Regions from separate parts of the Homo sapiens genome. Here regions 1 and 2 are each linked to region 3. The links are contacts of gene promoters, found by promoter capture Hi-C in human tissues and cell types (Jung and others, 2019). All regions are on one chromosome and are shown on one strand. The core of a region is centred on a gene start or on the middle of the fragment in contact, and the rest is flanking DNA. Distances in the headings are between cores, read along the strand shown. Region 1 overlaps SCAF1 (SR-related CTD associated factor 1). Region 2 overlaps PRR12 (proline rich 12). Region 3 holds the start of MED25 (mediator complex subunit 25).

Region 1 (5,085 bases), core at 2,350-4,849, 170 kb after region 3:
TAGCCTGGGGGACGCAGTGAGACCCTGTCTCAAAAAAAACAAACAAGGTAGCAGGGCACAGTGGCTCACGCCTGTAATCCCAGCACTGTGGGAGGCTGAGGCGGGCGGATCACTTGAGGTCAAGAGATCAAGGCCATCCTGGCCAGCATGGTGAAACCCCATCTCTACTAAAACTACGAAAATTAGCTGGGTGTGGTGGCATGCACCTTGTAGTCCCAGCTACTCAGGAGGCTGAGGCAGGAGAATCGCTTGTACTCGGGAAGTGGAGGTTGCAGTGAGCTGAGATTATGCCACTGCACTCCAGCCTGGGCGACACAGCGAAACAAGGTAAACAAGGTAAACATGACCTGGCACAGAGTGGTGTGCCTGCTCTACCACAGAACTGGTGCTCACGGCTCACAGCTGGTGCCCATAGCTGACTGCACCTTCTTCTCCTCTCCCTCCAACCCCTCCTCCAAATACAGATGTTCACGTAGAAGGAAGGCCTAAACCCAGGGTTCTCAACAGAGTCCAGGGCTCAGCAGCATGTATTGTTTAAAATGAAAATTCCCAGGTCCCACCCCAGACCTGCAGAATCAGAACTCTTGGGAGTGGGCCCAGTGATGTGCATAGTAACAAGTCCTCCTTGCAACTGAGATGTGCGTTCGCGTTTGGTCTAAAGGGCTCACAGGGTTACCGTTGTGTGTGGGGTTGGAGGAAGAGATTCCTCCTTGGGCAGCGCACATCTCAGACATCAAAAACTTGGGCTTCAGACTCAGACACACCAGGGCTCAAGGCCCAGGCACCCCACGGAGCATCTGGCTGTGCGCCCTTGGGCAAGTGCCTGCCCTTTTTCAGGCTGTCTGCTTCTCTGAAGATAGAGATTCGAAGAGTCCCCCTCCTGGGGAGATGAACGCCCAGTGCAGTGACACTAATACTTAGCGTGCCGAAACCAGTTGTCACACACGCTGACCACTCCCACATAGCCCCAGCACATCAGTTTTTACTTTATGTACATCTGTATGCGCCTACAGCCTTAATCACGTCTAATACGAAGAGAAGGGAAAGGTTTTGTCTAAATAACATGATCACCGCTACCATCACTACCAAAAACAGCCGATCCCCACACAACTCCACGACCACCTGCCCAGCTCCGCCCTGGCCCCACATACCCGTTTTGCCCGTCCTCCAGGCCCTGAGACGGGGCAGCAGGCTGGGCACAGGCAGAGGGATGGGATCTCTGTCCCCGATTCGGACCTCAGCCACCAGCTCCAGCATGTCCTCACTTCTGCAAGGCGGAAGGGGTGGGTGAGCCTCAGGGGTGCTTCTGGCTCTCACGCTGAGGCCTCTCCCACTCCAGCTGCCCAGCTACTCACTCGCCAGGCCGCAGGTCCAGGCGGCTGGGAACCCAGGTATCCGGGGGATCCAGGACACTCACCAGCCCTGCGAGGAAGCTGTCCGTGGCCATGTCCAACACCTGGAAGAGGCCAGAGAGGCTCTACGCCGTCCCTGGTCACATGAAGACTGGCAAATCCTGCTTCCCCACTCCCTAACCTCTCAGGAACCCAGACATCTAAGATCCCCAAGAAAACTGAGGATCTAATTCCTATAGCCTGACTGCCATCAACACTCAAAGCTCAGGCCCACAGATCAGGCCCCCAGACTCTCCAACATTGCCCCTGGTCAGCATCGCAGAGCCAGGAGTCCAGGTCCCCAAACCCCATTCCCCCAGACTCAGGCCCCCATCCCTTCCTCCCTGATACCCGTGAGCCAGGCCCCCAGCCCCCTCTTCTTACTCACAGTAGCCGTGTCAGTGCCCCCTGATTCCTGGGAACGGGGCTCTGACCGTGGACTCCGGCAGCGCCGCCATCGAAGGCCATGACACCGAGAGCCATCTGGTGAGAGATTTGCATGGGGGATTGGACACAGGGGACTTGCTGCAGAGACTTGCGGGGTAGAGGAAAGAGGAGCTTGATCTAGTTCCTGACAGCGGAACCAGCCTCCCGCATGCTCTCCAGGCCTCCATGCGCCACCTCCCAGGAGGACTTCCCAGCACCCACTTCAGAGGCTGCGACGCTCAGCCATTCGTCCTCCTGTCTGCCCTCAGACACCTCAACCTGGCATTCAGGCCTTGCTGGGATCCAGTCCCCACAGACCTCTCCTGCCTCCCCCAACCCCACTCACACCCTCCTGCATGCCAGCCCCAAGGAAGCCCAGCGCAGCCCCTCGCCGCTGCACCCGTGCTGTAGGCCTGCTGCAGCTGATCAGGCTTCCCTCTAATCCTAGGTCCTTAGACTCTTCTAGGTCCTTAGAGAGCCGTTCACTGTCCCTGCTCGGGGAAGGTGCCCTGACCCGTCTCCCACCATGCTAGCTCAAGTGGGCCTCCTGCCCTCTCCCAGCACTGTGCCTGTCTCCCTTCCACTGCACACTAGGCCCTTCCAAGGCAGCTACAGGGTGTCTGCCCATTTTTGGCTCCCCATGCCAGCACAAGGGTGGCACCCAGGAGGCTTCAGAAAAGCTTGTATGAATGACATTAGGATAAAGAATGCAGAGAGGGGGCAGGGGCTAAAAGGAACCGGAAGCCGCCATACCTTTATCATTGGGCAGGTCCCCCTGCAGGGAGCTTCCCACAGCCTGCTGGATGGCTCGCTGGGGAAGGGGGGAAGAACCAAGCGTCAGAGGACCCAGGCAGATGCTTTGCAACCTCTGCCCCTTGGGAGACAGACATCCCAGACACTGACAGCTAGACTCAAGTGCTTCAAGGGAGCCAAGAGTCCAGCGCCCCTGCCTCAGGCCCTGGAGTCAGGCCCCTGGAGTGTGGATGCCCAGCTCCTCCATCCCTCAGTGCCAGGAGCCCAGCAGCCTCACCAGGATAAAGGCAGAAGGAGAAAGCGTGGGGTCTCTGTCTGGCGGACCATCGCCCCGATCCTCCCCCGACTCCTCTGTCTTCCCTCGAGACTCATCTTCTTCCTCCATGGTCACCTGGGGGTCCAGGGGGGAGAGTTTGGAGTGGAGGTCCCGGGAGAAAGGATGGAAGTAGAGGATAGACATGAAGACCTCAAGGGCCCCACACTATCTCCCTCAGCATCCCCTCTGGCACCCCTCCTCTCCTCCACCTCCTCCCACTCCACCCTGTGCTTGGGTGGGCGCTGGACCCAGCACAGACACCCCAGGGACTAGGAGCAATTCTCTTCCTTTTTTCTGGGTCTCAGGTGCCTCTTATGTCAAAGGGAGGCCTCCCTGGCCTCCGCTTTTAACATCTCACTCCTCAATTCCCGCAGCTTCCCCAACAACCTATCCAAACTTCAAGACCTCATTCCCTGGCCTCCTAAGAGGCAAAGCCAACACCAAGGTTTTTTGTGTGTGCTGCACTGTGATTTCAAAGGGTGTGTTCCACAGTCCTATAAACCCACCTTTCCCAAGGCCAATGTGCTGGGCAATATTCAACACCATGCCTTAAACACCACACGGCTTCCTAGAGCATCAACTGTCCTCGATGGTGAGGACCACCCCCAAATTGTATTTATACACCTAAGTTGGAAACTTCATTGAGTGATCTGCAAAACCAGTATGCCATTTTTAAAATGAAAACGCTAAACTTCAGAAAGACATGCCGAAGGAAAACTTCACAGGAGGCATTTACCTATCGCCATCTGCACAAAGCCTTTGCAATGTCATGGAAATTCTTTGATATGATTCCCCAGTCAGGCAGTTGAAAGATCATCCATCAAACAGGTGGATGTCTTGATTAGGGCTTCAGAAAAATATGAATATTTCAGCTGTAAGCTTCCCCATGACTGTCAAATCTGCTACTCATAAGACAATATCCAATCTCAAAATTCCTAGAAAGCTTCAAAATCCCTAACCCACAACTCAGTATGCTTAATTGTAAATGCACGAAATAGGAGCATCTATCTCAGAGAATGGCTGTGAATACTCAAAGCCTGACTTCTGCCACACATTTAGAGCACCTCAAGTGCTCAATACGGATGAAGAGGAATGACACTATTAGCCCTTAACGCCCAGGTTTCCCCTACATCTGTCTCCTCGCTTCCCCCACAGCATGCCTGCAAAGACAAGGCCCTGGTCCTGTTCTAGATCCCATATAGATTTTCAAACCATGCCAAGCCTCCATATTCAGCCTCCCAGCTCCACCTAATTCCTAACTTCCTAAGACACACCCAACCCTGATAGTCTATTACATCCCAGCCTCTTTCACCAATACTCAATAAGCTCAGCCCCAGTTCCTGGCCCTGGAACTGCTCTCCAGCACCTCCCGGGGAAGCACATGCTACCTACAACAGTGACTGTCACATATCAGAAGCTTAATCAACATCTGCTGACTACAGGCTGAGGGATCCCCAAACCCTCTGCAGTATACAAAGATGCTTGCTTGCTCATTTAGAAAGCACCAGGCTTCGCAGACACACCCTCAGCTACTGAGATCTTCTGAACAGAAGAATGCTCTGCAGATACTGCTAGGTCCTATCTGGATCAGTGGTTTCCCCAACAACAGGGTCATATACCAGTTTAGTGCTTCACAAATAGCTTGTTTTAAAAAGTAAATAGAACAAAATAGTTCTTCACAGCACAGCACAAGTAGTAAGTGGAAATGTCAATTCGTGGAAGGTGAGTTAATGTTAATACATTATGTTATATAATGTTAAATACATTATGACTGTCTGTACCAGGTCTCAATGAAAAAATGTATCTTAATGCAGATCACGGTCAACATGGCCCAGGTTTCCCCTTGAAAAGCACTGTAATAGTGGGTCTAGATGACCCTCCAGACTCTTCCAGACTAATGTAGATTAATTCTAACTCTCTCAATAACCCCCAGGGTAATGCAGAATCTTAAAACATTTTTCATTTGAATTACTGTCTGAAGGGCAAGTATATCTAAGCTGGGCAAAATTTCCTCATTCTCTTTCCGTATTATTATTCGCCACAAGCTGCTCTGACCCCAAAGGCATTCGAATTTGCTCCAGGCATCAAAACTGCATTCCTGCAGTCACATTAAAGCCATCTAGATGGTTCCAGGTCCTTCTAACTGCCCCCAGCCTCCTGTCACCCATTATTAGACACTACCCATACCTTGGAGACCCC
Region 2 (4,780 bases), core at 438-2,937, 190 kb after region 3:
TAGACCAGAGCAACAGCCTGAGATTCTACATCTTTTCCTTTAAGGGTGGGAGGAGGAGAAACAGCCCTATTCAACCTGCCCTCTCCTCGTCTGCTGCCTGTGCCGATTCTACATTTATACAAGTGCTTGGGGAACTCCAAGAGTGCTGTACCATGGACCACTCACTTGGATTCAAGAATACAGGACTTGAGGCCGGGCGCAGTGGCTCACACCTGTAATCTCTTTGGAAGGCTGAGGCTGGCGGATCACTTGAGGTCAGGAGTTCGAGACCAGCCTGGCCGACATGGTGAAACCTGGTTTCTACTAAAAATACAAAAATTTGCTGGATGTAGTGGTAGGCCCCTGTAATCCCAGCTACTTGGGAGGCTGAGGCAGGAGAATCGCTTGAACCGGGGAGGCTGAGGTTGCATGAGCCAAGATCGAACCACTGCACTCCAGGCTGGGTGACAGAGCGAGACTCTGTCTCAAAAAAAAAAACCAAAACAAAACACTACAGGATTTGAACTGGGTGTAGTGGCATGCACCCGTAATGCCAACTACTTGAGACTGGGGCAGGAGGATCTTTTAAGCCCAGAAGTTCAAGGCCAGCCTGGGTAACATAAAGAACACAGGGCCAGGCACAGTGGCACTTGCCTGTAATCCCGTCACTTTGGGAGGCTGAGGCAGGAGGATCGCTTGAGCCAGGGAGTTGGAGGCTGCAGTGAGCTATGATCATGCCACTGCACTCCAGCCTAGGTGACAGAGCGAGACCCTGTCTTTAGCTAAAAAACAAAAGAAACCCCCCAGTGATAAATATTTGTTGTCTGAAGTCATTAAATTTCAGGGTGGGATACTCTGCTGTGCGGGGACACAGAACATATGCCAGCCTCAGGCCCCCCACTGCCCAGGGCTCTGGGAAAGTCCCGTTCCAGAACCTCTGCCCCTGCTACCACTGCCACCCACTCCAGCGCCGCAGGACAGAGGCACTCCAGCCTGCCGGTAAAGTGTTTGCCGTTGGGTTTTCGTTTGGCTGGTTGTGTGTACACAGTGTATACAAGTTGAGTTGTACAGAAGCCCAAGAAAGAGCAAGAGACAAAGGGTAGTGGGAGCAGGGGGTGGGGCGGGGGCGAGAACGGGGAGGAGGGGAAAGGAGACCGATAAAAAATAGAACCACATCCAGACAACAATGGGGGATGGGCAGTGGGTGGGGGCCAGACACAGACAAATCGCCGTAGAAAAGGAGTGGGAGGGGCAGAGAGAGGGGACCCTTCTCCCCCCTCCACCTCCCCAAGCCCCTGCCCCAGGTATGTACAATAAATAAGATTAAAAATAATTAACAAGATGCGTTTTCCCCTCCCACCCGACGCCAAATGCCCTGCGGAGGGAATGGCCTTTAGCAAAGATCTTGGCCTGCAGGGGGGACTTGGGGGGAAGGGGTCCCCCAGCTCTCTGAAGCCACCCCACCCCCCCCAGCCATACATAGACTTTTCCTATACATTATGTACAAGGTGGAGGGGGCGGGGGCTGTGGCTGTGGAGGGGGGGTCGGGGCAAGGGGAGAGGGAAACCGTTACTAAATAGACATTTATACATATATATAAATAATTTCTCTGTACACCGAACAGTGGGAGGAATGGGGAGGGAGTGGAGGGGGCTTGGGAGAGGGGGGGAGTCGGACTTTGAACCCTGCCCTGGAGGGGGCAGCACAGACACACCCTGACCCATGACCCCCTTTCCCCGGCGATGGAGCCCAGGTGTTAGCTCCTGAGGACACGGTTCTGTCCCAATTCTCGGTTCATGGAGGAGGCGCCCCCCTCACAAGCTGGGGCGGGGTCACCCGCAGCGGCTGTGGGCCTGTGCTTGGGCCAGCAGGTCACTGAAGGAGTCAAAGAGCTGTTCCAGCCACGGCTGGTTCCGCATGCACTGCTGGACCACCTCCTCCTGGCCCAGGTCCTCGGCGCCGCCCTCGATGGCCAGGGTCTGCAGGGGTCAAACATGGCACTGGGGAGGGTGGCACACCGGCCTCTGGGGAGGGAAGGGGCTGGGGCATGGGGCCTGGGGTGTCAGATGTCAGTGTCCCAGGGAGACCAGGGCTGGGGGCTGCATTCTTAAGTCCAAGACAGAAGGACCTGAACTCTTGGGTCTGAGGCAGGATGGGGCTGGGCTTGGACCCTCAGATCCCAAGAGGAAGTCAGAAAGGTTGGAATCCCAGGGCGATGGGTGCTGTGGGTGGGGCTCACCTGGTCCCGGCAGCGCAGGAAGGTGTGGTATTTATAGTGGTGGAGCGAATGGTAGAGTGTATAGTATCCCGACTTTTCCAGCTCAACCTTGAACTCCTGGGTAGGAGTGGAGATGCCTCAGCCCCTCCAGCCCGGCACTTGGCAGCCCCTCTCCTCCCTTCCCACATACCGCCAGCACTCCCCACTCCCAGCCCCAGCCCCAGTGCCCACCTGGGCTCTGACCACGCTCCTCTTGAGCTTGCTGAGCGTCTTGCGGTTGTAGGGTTCCCCAGCAGGCCGCAGCCGCACAGCCCCCTCTTCCGGAGAGCCCTCCCCACTCTGCTCCACTTGCAGCTGTGGGAACGTGTGCAGAGCATCCTGCGGGAAGCCAATGGGTCAGCTGGATGCTGCCCTGGATCCATAAACCCCAAACCCAACAGCCAGGTCTCAGATCTGTGCCTCAGTTTCCCCCAGGCTGCAGATCAGGAGAGACAACTAGAGTCTCCTCAAAGGACAGAGGAGGCTGGGCCTGACCAGTGATGCTTCCACTGTGCCTTCTGGCCTGGCTCAGATTCTCAATGTCACCCAAAATTCTACCCCAGAATTCCCAGCCCCATCCTAACCATCTACCCCAGAATTCCCAGCCCCATCCTAACCATCTATCCCAGAATTCCCAGCCCCATCCTAACCATCTATCCCAGAATTCTCAGCCCCATCCTAACCACCTACCCCAGAATTCCCAGCCCCATCCTAACCACCTACCCCAAAATTTTCAGCACCATCCTAACCACCTACCCCAGAATTCTCAGCCCCATCCTAACTATCTATCCCAGAATTCTCAGCCCCATCCTAACCACCTATCCCAGAATTCTCAGCACCATCCTAACCACCTACCCCAGAATTCTCAGCACCATCCTAACCACCTACCCCAGAATTCTCAGCCCCATCCTAACCACCTATCCCTGAATGCTCGGCCCCATCCTAACCACCTACCCCAGAATTCTCAGTCTCATCCTAACCACCTATCCTATCCCAGAATTCTCAGCCCCATCGTAACCACCTACCCCAGAATTCTCGGTCCCATCCTAACCACCTACCCCAGAATTCTCGGTCCCATCCTAACCACCTACCCCAGAATTCTTGGCCCCATCCTAACCACCTACCTCAGAATTCTCAGTCCCATCCTAACCACCTACCCCAGAATTCTCGGTCTCATCCTAACCACCCACCCCAGAATTCCTGGCCCCATCCTAACCACCCACCCCAGAATTCCCAGCCCCATCCTAACCACCTACCCCAGAATTCCCAGCCCCATCCTAACCAGCTATCCCAGAATTCCCAGCCCCATCCTAACCACCTACCCCAGAATTCCCAGCCCCATCCTAACCAGCTATCCCAGAATTCCCAGCCCCATCCTAACCATCTACCCCAGAATTCTCGGCCCCATCCTAACCACCTACCCCAGAATTCTCGGCCCCATCCTAACCATCTATCCCAGAATTATTGGCCCCATCCTAACCATCTATCCCAGAATTCTCAGCCCTATCCTAACCATCCCATCTACCCCAGAATTCTTTTTTTTTTTTTTTTAAGACAAAGTCTCGCTCTGTCGCCCAGGCTGGAGTGCAGTGGCGCGACCTTGGCTCACTGCAAGCTCCGCCTCCCGGGTTCACACCATTATTCTGCCTCAGCCTCGCGAGTAGCTGGGACTACAGGCACCCACCACCACACCCGGCTAATTTTTTGTGTATTTTTAGTAGAGACGGGGTTTCACCATGTTAGCCAGGATGGGTTGTTATTGGTCTCCTGACCTCGTGATCCACCTCCCTTAGCCTCCTAGAGTGCTGGGATTACCAACATGAGCCTCCGCGCCCAGCCATCTATCCCAGAATTCTAACTCCCGACTAATAACACATACTTCTCAGACCTACTCTAATATCCTACACTGGGATTATCTACCCTAGTGTAACATCTCACCCACAATCCTCAGTGCCAGCCTAACAATCCATCTCAGAATTTGTAGACTAGATTCATATCCTCCAGAGTTTTTATAACCTAATGCTACCCAGAATTTTCCAACCCACCCAGCACTCTACCCACGAATTTTCAGAGTCAGCATAACATTCCAGCTTAGATTTCTCCACACCAGTCTAAGAATCCATTCCAGAATTCTCGGTCATCCCAACGTCCCACCCATCATTCTGAGAAAACTACTATCTCACTCAAAATTCTCAGTCATATTAATATCTCTCTCTCTCTCTCTTTCTCTCTCTCTCTCTCTCTCTCTCTCTCTATATATATATATATATATATGTTTTTGTTTTTTTTTTGAGACAGAGTCTCGCTCTGTCGCCCAGGCTGGAGTGCAGTGGCACGATCTCGCCTCACTGCAAGCTCCGCCTCCCGGGTTCACGCCTTTCTCCTGCCTCAGCCTCCTGAGTAGCTGGGACTACAGGCGCCCGCCACCACGCCCAGCTAATTTTTTTGTATTTTCAGTAGAGACGGGGTTTCACTGTGTTAGTCAGGATGGTCTCGATCTCCTGACCTCGTGATCCATCCGTCTTGGCCTCCCAAACTGCTGGG
Region 3 (4,424 bases), core at 1,304-3,803:
CAGGATTTAACCCGTCTGCCTGACTCCAGACTCTACAATGTCAACTATCAAAATCCGATCCAGCGCCAGGCGTGGTGGTGAGGCAGGAAATTAAAGAAAAAAAATTAAAAAGAGAAATAAGTTCTATGTATTAGGCTGACTTGTCTGAGAGGCAGCAATGGGCACAGCCCAGACCCAGGAAAAGTCTTGATAATACTATCTAAAGTGCTCTTGGAGACTCTCCCAGCACTCCCTCAACATAGAGAGAAGAAAAAACAAATTTTCCTTTGTTTTATGGAATGAGTTTATAGATTCCTGTTCTCTGTAACTCATGACTTCAAGTATTCTGTTTTATCTAAGAAGTACAGCGAAGGTCATGAGAAGCCTGAGCTGCCTGGGCACCACAGTGAAGGTTATGGGATAAGCCCGTGCCTAGGCTAACCTAGATAAGGGACATCTGGGTTGCATAGCAACGGTTATGTGCAATCCTGAGTTATAAACCTGTTACAACAATTTGATTAACTGTTTTTGTTCTGCCTCTGTATCCCTGCTGTCACGCCACTGTAAGCTTGCTTCAAGCTAGCCCACCCCCTTTTGTGAAGTGTGTATAAAAGTCAAGTGCTACCTTTGTTCTGGGCCGTCTTTGGACGTGAGTCGGCTTGGGCCTGAGTGCACTCAATGAAAGATTCTCCTGCTTTAACCCGAGGGCTCTCTCCTGTCGTCCTGAATCCCGCAACAGTGGCTCACCCCTATAATCCCAGCACTTTGGGAGGCTGAGGCAGGCAGATCACATGAGGTCAGGAGTTTGAGACCAGCCTGGCCAACACAGTGAAACTGTCTCTACTAAAAATACAAAAAAAAAAAAAAAAATTAGCTGGGCATAGTGGCGTGTGCCTGTAATCCCAGCTACTTGGGAGGCTGAGGCAGAAGAATCGCTTCAACCCAGGAGGTACAGGTTGCAGTGAGCCACGACTGTGCCACTGCACTACAAGCCTGGGAGACAGAGCAAGACACTGTTTCAAAAAAAAAAAAAAAAATTCTGACCCAAGCCACAGAGGGATCTATCCTGGCTCTGACCCATCCCCCTGCACTGAGGCTACAATGTACCCATCTGGAAAAGGAGGACAGGGGTAGACGGAAAAAGAGAGGACAGAAAGGGGACAATCACACAGGGAGTACAAGGTGGCTGCTGGAGCTCAGCCAGGCCTCCCTGAATGGGAAGGTTTTTCCTACTTCTAAACTGATGGCAACATTGCTGAGCACACAGAAGCCACCACAAAAGTGACTTCTGACAAAAACACAATCACCCTCAAAGTCCTTTCAATCCCTTAATGTATGAGATGTTTCCTGCAGCTCAAACCCAAGCCATCGCTCATTCACGGCCCCTCGCAGGGACCCCAACCACCCCAAGCCATTACTTATTCACAGCCCCTCACGGGGACACCAACCACCCCAAGCCATCACTTATTCACAGCCTCTCACGGGGACACCAACCACCCCAAGCCATCACTCATTCACGGCCCCTCACAGGGACCAGCAACCCACCCCAAGTGGGGGAAAGCTCACTTAATGCCATCGAGCCAGGTGACAAACTCATAGGCGCTGCTGGTGGGAGCGTGACATTGTACGTAGGACTCGGGAGCGCAGTCCACTGTGTTGAACACCACGAGGCTGTACTGGGTCCCCCCATACTGGGAGGGGAGGACAGAAAACTTTTAATCTGGGACCTCAATTCCCTTTTCCCTTAGAGAAGGAATCAGGGCTCCCAGCTTCCCGTTCCTCCAGAACCAGGAACTCCTCAGCTTCCTCCTTCCTCAGACCCAGCAATCTCGGCCCCAGCCCCTTCTCCCTCAGACCCAGGAATCCAGGCCCCCGGCCCCTCCTCCCTCAGACCCAGGAGCCCAGGCCCCAGCACCTCCTCCCTCAGACCCAGGAATCCAGGCCTCAGCTCCTCCTTTCTCAGACCCAGCAGTCCAGACGCCCAGCCCTTCCTCCCTCAGACCCAGGGATCTGGGCCCCTAGCTCCCTCCTCCCTCGGACCCAGGAATCCGGGCCCCAGCGCCTCCACCCTCAGACCCAGGAGTCCAGGCCCCCAGGCCCTCCTCCCTCAGAACAAGGAGTCCAGACCCCCAGCCCCTCCTCCCTCAAACTCAGGAGTCCAGGCCCAGCCCTTTCTCCCTCCCTCAGACCCAGGAGTCCAGGCCCCCGGCCCCTCCTCCCTCAGGCCCAGGAGTCCCTAGACTCACGTCTCCCCCGAAGTCCGTCTCAGCAGGAGGACCACCATTAAAATACCTGTGAGGGTAGGAAGTGAAAGGTCGGAGTCAGGCAAGAAACTGTGCGAAACTGAAGTGGGAGGGCGGGGTTAGAGTCGCGGAAACAGCACTCACTCGATGGCCGGGAGCAGGTAGTGCTTGCGGAGCCCCTCGAAGTAGGGTCCCAGGTTGGCCGTACCCTCAATCACAAACACCACGTCGGCCACCACGCTCCCGGCGCGGGCCGGGCCCTCGGACCCGGGGACCATACCCCGTGCGGTACCCGCCACCACCACTGCAGCCGCAGCCGACGCCGCGGAATGAGCAGAAATGCGCCTGCGCCGCGCGCGCGCTCGCGTCGGGCGGTTTAGGGCTGCTGGGAATGCTGCCATGTTTGTGCGGGGCACGCGCTGAGGCTTCGTTCTAGCTCCATCCTCCTTCGCCCCCACCGCGTGGAAGACTCAGAAAGGGCATAGTTAGCCCTTCTAGGGGCCTGATGGGTTAGACGGAATTATTGTCAAAAGCTAAATAAATTGAAAGCGGCTCAGTCAGCCGCCATCTTTGAGCGGGGCGTCCAGGTCCGCCTCTTGTCTCAAAGGGAGGGGCAGGAGACCTGGTTGCTATGCAACGCGTACGCTGCCCTTGTTTTCGTTTTTGTGTTTTGTTTTTTGTTTGTTTGTTTTTTCGAAACGGGAGTCTCGCCCTGTCGCCCAGGCTGGAGTGCAGTGGCGCGATCTCGGCTCACTACAACCTCCGCTTCCCGGGTTCAAGCGATTCTCCTGCCTCAGCCTCCCGAGTAGCTGGGATTACAGGTGCCCGCAACCACGCCCCGCTAATTTTTGTATTTTTAGTAGAGAAAGAGTTTCACCCTGTGGGCCAGGCTGTTCTCGAACTCCTGACCTCAAGTGATTCGCCCGCCTTGGCTTCCCAAAGTGCTGAGATTACAGGCGTGAGCCACCGCGCCGGGCCCGCTGCCCTTGTTTTGTAACCGTTAGATTAAGTTTCTGGTTCTGTTCTTTCGGGCGTGGGGACTAGGGGAGGGACGCGAGAAGGATCCAATCACATCGGCGGAAACGAGGTTACTAGGCGACGCTTTAAGGTCGTCCTCAACTTGGAAGGGAGGGCAGTTGTTTTCCCCCCCGAAAAGAAGCCGAACACCAAACCAAGTGCGGGTTGCTAAGCAACACCTGAGCGTTGTTTTCTGGGAGAGGAGCCAGAAACTGGCTTAGAACGTAAATACATTCCAGGTGGATTAAAAATGTAAGTGCAACAAATGAAACCCGAAAACTATCTGAAGGGAAAAAATCTTAATGACTGCCATGGAGTTTCTTAGCACTACAGCAAAGTTAGAAAACGTAGTCTTCATTAATTTTTCCCAAAAGACTGTATAAACCAAGTTGAAAAATATACGGCCAACTGGGAAAATCTTTCTAGCGTGTTTGTTGACAGAAATGTACTACGCAAATAAATCTTACTGATGAATAACAATATAGAAAAATAGAAACACTTCATTACTATTATCTTTTAATTTTAATTTTTATTTTTTGAGGCAGGGTCTCTTTCTGTTGTGCAGGTTGAAGTGCAGTGGCCCAATCTTGGCTCACGGCAGCCTCTACTCGCACTGGAGCCACTCTTCAGCCTGTGGAGCAGCTGGGACCACAGCCGCGCACTACCACTTCCAGCTAATTTTTAAATTTTTTGTAGAGATGGGGTCTCACTGTGTTGCTCTGGCGTGTCTCAAACTCCTCGGCTAAAGCGATCCCAGGTGTTAGCCATCGTGCCCTGCCACTTTATATTTGTTTTAATAGAAAGAAACCTGACCAGGGCCGGACGCCGTGGCTCACGCTTGTAATCCCAGCACTTTGGGAGGCCAAGGCGGGCAGATCACCCGAGGTAAGGGGTTCAAGACCAGCCTGGCCAACATGGTGAAACTCCTTCTAACTACTAAAAATAAAAAAATTAGCCGTCCTGGTGGGCGTCTGTAATCCCAGCTACTTGGGAGGCTGAGTCAGGAGATTCTCCTGAACCCGGGAGGCGGAGGTTGCAGTCAACTGAGATTGTGCCACTGCATTCCAGCCTGGGCGGCAGAGTTAGACTCCGTCTCAAAAAAAATAAAAATAAATAAATAAAAAGAAACCTGACTAGTTTCACACAAACACACACACAAAATTTTGAATGGCCAGTAAATATTTT

The links. The method cuts DNA at HindIII sites, captures the fragments that hold promoters and counts their contacts. A contact is called where the count stands out against the background at its distance.
Region 1: a fragment that was not itself captured here is called in contact with the fragment with the promoter of MED25 in region 3 in 1 of the 25 tissues and cell types used here (adrenal gland).
Region 2: a fragment that was not itself captured here is called in contact with the fragment with the promoter of MED25 in region 3 in 1 of the 25 tissues and cell types used here (pancreas).

The regions. Positions count from the first base shown.
Region 1 is chr19:49,642,897-49,647,981 of GRCh38, reverse strand. It overlaps SCAF1 (SR-related CTD associated factor 1), which reads right to left. Exons shown (of 11, transcript NM_021228.3): 2 at 2,848-2,961; 3 at 2,571-2,628; 4 at 1,780-1,874; 5 at 1,356-1,456; 6 at 1,152-1,267. The coding sequence starts at 2,955. Among named protein-coding and RNA genes, the nearest start is that of SCAF1, 3.2 kb to the right of the region's middle. The HindIII fragment of the contact is 935 bases long and covers 3,132-4,066 here.
Region 2 is chr19:49,622,639-49,627,418 of GRCh38, reverse strand. It overlaps PRR12 (proline rich 12), which reads right to left. Exons shown (of 14, transcript NM_020719.3): 12 at 2,429-2,575; 13 at 2,219-2,314; 14 at 980-1,958. The coding sequence ends at 1,812. Among named protein-coding and RNA genes, the nearest start is that of RRAS, 15 kb to the left of the region's middle. The HindIII fragment of the contact is 9,568 bases long and covers 1-4,780 here.
Region 3 is chr19:49,816,418-49,820,841 of GRCh38, reverse strand. It overlaps MED25 (mediator complex subunit 25), which reads right to left and starts at 2,553. Exons shown (of 18, transcript NM_030973.4): 1 at 2,367-2,553; 2 at 2,226-2,271; 3 at 1,546-1,670. The coding sequence starts at 2,500. RefSeq lists silencers at 2,345-2,504, 2,431-2,597 and an enhancer at 2,635-2,994. The HindIII fragment of the contact is 7,641 bases long and covers 1-4,424 here.